Regions from separate parts of the Homo sapiens genome. Here region 1 is linked to region 2. The links are contacts of gene promoters, found by promoter capture Hi-C in human tissues and cell types (Jung and others, 2019). All regions are on one chromosome and are shown on one strand. The core of a region is centred on a gene start or on the middle of the fragment in contact, and the rest is flanking DNA. Distances in the headings are between cores, read along the strand shown. Region 1 overlaps CACNB2 (calcium voltage-gated channel auxiliary subunit beta 2). Region 2 holds the start of SLC39A12 (solute carrier family 39 member 12).

Region 1 (2,700 bases), core at 59-2,558, 230 kb before region 2:
TAAAAAATTTAATGAAAAGATAAACATGCATGTATTACTATAGCACTTTCAGAATCATTTGGTTCCAAAAAACTGAACCTGACCACAAAAATCAAAGTTTTATTCAGCAATGACCAGGTAAGTTACAGACTAAATGGAAAGAACATAATGGTTGGGGTGGGATGCAGGGAGAAAAACAGGAACAAGAGCAGGGTAACTGACTCACTGTCCCTTTTACCCAGAGGCACGGAAGACCTTTATTAGTGGTCTTAGGAAAGCTATCACCTCCCTACAACAATTTCTCAGATAGCAAGGGCTGCTATGTCTGCTATTTATAAACCCTTTCTTTTTCTGTCCAGACTTCCTCATATATGTTTACTAGTCTTCTGCTAAAGGGTTATTCCTTTTGCTAAAAAAAGTAGAAAAAAATTAAAGTTATTGACATTTATTTTATAGTGTTTAGTTTACATTGCAATAAAAGCGTTTGTGGTTACTCAACTGGTAAAAGCCTGTTCCGCAGTAAGGCCTAGAAAATTCTAATTTGTTTATGTGAATATCTCACCCAGAGCACAGACCTGCTGGAAGGTTTCTGCCTCTTTAAAAAAAGAGTCTCAAGTGCTTTCTATAGACCCAACTTCTGCTCTATGTTTCAGCTATCCTCAACCTCCACCCTGTCCCTACAAGGTTTGGCAGCAGAAATGCCCAAGCATCTCCCAGGGGTCTATTACCAGACCTATCCAACCTCTCTTCCCTGGGGCTCAAGGGTTCACAGAGTTTCAAACAAACTTGCTAATGGCAGCTCTCCTGGCAGTCTCCATCCCCATGGCAACACAAACTTCAGAATTGAACGTAGCAAAAGCAGGAACACTGATTCATATTTCACCGAATATCTGCTCAACCTTCCATCTAAGAGGCACCCTTGCCAGATGTTTGCTTTTACCCAAAGATGTTTCTATCACCCATGCTAAATGAAACAAGCAAATAGGGAAAAGAACCTTCTCCCAAATCACTATCTTTGTGTGACCTTTCTCTAAGCTAAAAAAAATAATAAAAATAAAAGGAATCAAAAAAGAAGAAATCTGTGGGTCAACTGGATCCTTGAGAACAGGACCTCTATCTGATTAATCTCTGTATGATTTTCAGTATTTACCATGTATTTAAATTATGATATACATGCACAATTCAGATATTTAATCAACATTTCTTGAATGAGAAGGAATCTGAGAAGATTAGGCTCTAACAAAGCCTAATAGGTAGAGTTAATGCTAAAAGTGCCATTTAAAATGACTTTTAAATCTCTCTGAAGATCTCTGGCAGCAAACATCACTAAAACACAGAAAAAGAAAAGGCTCATTTCAACGGTAAAGTCCCCAATCCCTACAGGCTTATGACTTAAGGAGATAATGATAAAGTCGCATCATACTCCAGTCTACATTACCCGAATTCAACTCTATATCCTCAGTAGCAACCGCCAAGAAAAGGAGAACTTCAGGAAGTATGCATCCCAATGCAAAACCGAGATATGAGAGGAGACACCACTATTCTGCAATCAGCTTCATGCCTGTATCTTCTCCCAGGATGGTCACTGTGCCAGTGGATGGGAGTCTAGCTGCAAAATGCATATGATATGCCTCTTGAATACCTACGTATATACTGTGAAAGGAAAATAGAATCTTGGCACCCCAAACTCACTATGCCAAATGGAAAGTTAAGCTTAGAAACTGAGTCACACAAAAACTGCCTTCCTTTTTGTTCCCAAATAGCTGTAATTCCACATGCTTACTTTATCTTATGTAACATGTTAAAATGTAGATTAACCAAGCAAGAGAAGAATGCAAAATTGGCTTTTCCTGTACTCTTCTTTGCACATGTAACATGTAGATTCACTGAGTGCTAATCAGAGCCTACCAAGATGGAGCCGCTTGCCTCACTGCCTGCCTGTCCTCCTTTTCTTTTTCTTCCCCAAATGCTTGCTCTTTCTTTCTTTCTTCTTCTTCTTCTTTTTTTTTTTGAGATGGAGTCTTGCTGTGTCTTCCAGGCTGGAGTGCCGTGGCGTGATCTCAGCTCAAGAGCTGGGATTACAGGTGCCTGCCACCACACCCAGCTATTTTTTTTTTTTTTTTTGCATTTTTAATAGAGACGGGGTTTCACCACGTTGGCCAGGCTGGTCTCAAACCCCTCACCTCAAGTGATCCACCCACTTTGGCCTCCCAAAGTGCTGGGATTATAGGCATGAGCCACTGTGCCCAGCCTCTTTCTTGGTTAAATACTGAACATCCCAAAACCCTCTGTGGATAAAGCATAGGTTGCAGATCCTACTGAGGCACGTGTTTGTTTTTCTCAGGTGCATCTTCAACTATGGTAAAATACACTTCTGATGGATTGAGATCTGCTTCAGTCACTTTTTGGTTTACTACATGTATATGCACATGATTTGATGGGTGATCTGTAGGACTCTAACAGGCACTTCTGCTTCTGTATGTTCTCCTTGCTAAATGTCTTTGCAACCTAAACCCCAGCCTTAGGGTTTAGGGTTGAGGCTACACAGTGAAAACAACACTTTCCCTCAGTCACTACCTAAAATGTGGAGGGTACCTCCCTCCCTCACCTCTATACGCTTTCTCACTGCCATCACTAACAAGTTCTGGAATTCTGTACCCCTAACCAAAAGTCCCACTCATCTCTTCCTTATCTTCACTCATTCCCCGCATACCTTCTCAA
Region 2 (2,700 bases), core at 51-2,550:
GGGGTAAACTTGTAACCAAAGGAATTTCTGTGGTAAAGGGGAAAAATAAAGCCTTCAATTATTGTGCCTGCAACATGTTTGAAAGGATTCATTAATTGGGTGGCTAAGCTGATTTGCAATGACAAGCTGTTTCTACACAGCGGGGGTCTGTAGGTAATTTCTAACCCCAAATGGCAGGAAAGCACCATGGCTGTAGACTTTCAAACTGCACAGCAGCCAAAAAGCTTGCTAGATTCTCTCTCCCTAAACTAAACATAGCGTCACGTAAGTTTCTCCATTTACCAACAGGTGGTACAAGTTATAGGACCCAGGTTGGGAAACACCTTATGTTTATCCCATTATAAAGAACTCCAAGTGATTCATGGTCCTCATGAAAAAGAGAAAATAAATTCTACTAAATGACCAACATCATGTTGAGTTTAAAAGTTTTAGGCCAGGCGCGGTAGCTCACACCAGTAATCCCAGCACTTTGGGAGGCTGAAGCAGGCAGATCACGAGGTCAGGAGTTTGAGACCAGCCTGGCCAATATGGTGACACCCCCGTCTCTACTGAAAATACAAAAATTAGCCAGGTATGGTGGCACGTGCCTGTAGTCCCAGTTACATGGGAGGCTGAGGCAGAAGAATTGCTTGAACCCGGGAGGCGGGGGTTGCAGTGAGCCAAGATCGTGCCACTGCACTCCAGCCTGGGCGACAGAACAAGACTCCATCTCAAAAAAAAAAAAAAGAAAAAAGAAAAAAGAAAAAAAAAGAGTTTTAGACAAGGAAAAGCACTAGAAGAAAATAGTAATGTTCAGAAAACACAGGTCTTTTTTTTAGTTTACTAAGAATCAAGATTCTAGAGCAGGAAGCATCTTAGAAAAACAGAATTTCGAGACCTCAAGAACATGACACACACACACACACACACTCACTCAGTGGTGACTAAAGGAGTGGGGGATGACTTTAGAGCCAATCAACTTCCTGGAAAAAAAAATTATCTTTCTGTTGATGGCTTAAGGCATGTAAAATGTTAACAGCATCTCATGTCCGATCCTGGCCCAGAGATGAGCTGGTAAATGACTGTGGGCTAGTAACAAAGGTACTGGGATTACTTTTATGAGTTAAAAACAACAACAACACTTTAAGGTTGTTATGTTAGCAATTTAAAAGTGACAGAGGATGATGCAAGCATTTCTAACCCCAGTGCTTACCTTCAGAAGAAAGATAAACGATTCTTTATCTGGAGCTCCACAGCCTTTTAAATCCTGGAGAGTATTTCACAGTTACAAAGTTCCCTGTTTTTAAAATTCTTTGACTGTGCACTGGGAGCTAGAGAGGATTATTTCAGCCCAGAAAAGTTTTCAGTTGCTATGGAGAGAGCTGCTCTGAAGGTAACAATGAAGGTGGATAAAAGGGAGAACTTTCTGTCTGGTAGATTTTCAAGGTAATCAAATCAGTGTGGTTCATGAATTTAACTTTTTAGATCAAGAATTAACCAATTTTCTTAGGCTCACCTACTGTCACTTGCCTTTCAAGGGACAGAATCTAGGTCAAAGGATTTCACCTCGCAGAATAGAAAGACTTCAGTGTTAGATGAAGATTTTTTCCTCTCCAGTTGATTCTGTAATAACTGTTTCATCCAGGCTCAAACCAAAGATTTGTTGAAAAGATAGGCTCTTTGGAACCATATTTGTTTTGCAAGATGCAGAAGCCTAAAAGATTGAAGTCTTTCGTAATGAGATGCTTTCAAATGAAAAGTATTGGTTGAAGGAATGAAATTCTTACCAGGGATGTAGGTAGCATAAATGAGGAACTTTAATCAGCTGCATATATTGTGATCACCAGCACCGGTGGTAGTTCTTACATCAGATCCTTCATGCTCCTCAAAACAAAACCTCTCAACAAATTATTAGTGAATAAATGACTAAAGGAACAAAGTGGTTCATTTTCTAGGAAGCAAGAGAAGTTAAATCCTAAGATTTCAGAGTGGGCAGAATGCATGCCCACAGTATAGGGGTTTAAGTCAGCTGGTGGGCAGGTAGAGGAAATTTGAGATCAGGATGATTAGCCTCATCACTAATTGTATATGAAACACGGGAACCCTGCGGTAGGATATTCCTGAGAGAATGCTAGTAATGAGAGATGACAACTTGCTAGCAGCCCTGGCTCGCTCTTGGCGCCTCCTCAGCCTCAGCTTCAGCTCTCTCCGTCTTCAAGGAGCCCTTCAGCCCGCCGCTGCGCTGTGGGGGACCCTCTCTGGGGCTGGCCGAGGCCGGAGCCGGCTCCCTCTGCTTGCCGGGAGGTGTGGAGGGAGAGGCGTGGGCGGGAACTGGGGCTTGATCAGAGGCTGAATCCCGTGCGTGGACCAGAACGTTGGCCACGATGGCGGGTCTCCATCTCTTTCTTGCTTCCCGTCTTTTGCTCTTGATTGTCTGGGACGAGCTCCCTCTAGGCTGCTGGAGTGCCCGGGCTAGGTGCTCCGGATAGGTGCCACAAAGTCCCGTGGCTAGTGCCAGTGAGAGGTGAAGCCAGCTGGGCTTCTGGGATGGTGGGGACTTGGAGAACTTTTCTGTCTAGCTAAAGGATTGTAAAAGCACCAATCAGCGCTCTGTGTCTAGCTAATCTGGTGGGGACTTGGAGAACGTTTGTGTCTAGCTAAAGGATTGTAAGCACACCAATCAGCACTCTGTGTGTAGCTAAAGGTTTGTAAACGCACCAA

Evidence for each region. Contacts are between HindIII fragments. The study calls those that stand out against the background at their distance.
Region 1: a fragment that was not itself captured here is called in contact with the fragment with the promoter of SLC39A12 in region 2 in 2 of the 25 tissues and cell types used here (IMR-90 fibroblasts and lymphoblastoid cells).

What each region holds. Positions count from the first base shown.
Region 1 is chr10:18,176,869-18,179,568 of GRCh38, reverse strand. All of the region lies in intron 2 of CACNB2 (calcium voltage-gated channel auxiliary subunit beta 2), which reads right to left. Among named protein-coding and RNA genes, the nearest start is that of CACNB2, 38 kb to the right of the region's middle. The HindIII fragment of the contact is 7,347 bases long and covers 1-2,700 here.
Region 2 is chr10:17,950,518-17,953,217 of GRCh38, reverse strand. It overlaps SLC39A12 (solute carrier family 39 member 12), which reads right to left and starts at 1,300. Exons shown (of 13, transcript NM_001145195.2): 1 at 1,193-1,300; 2 at 1-27. The HindIII fragment of the contact is 7,346 bases long and covers 1-2,700 here.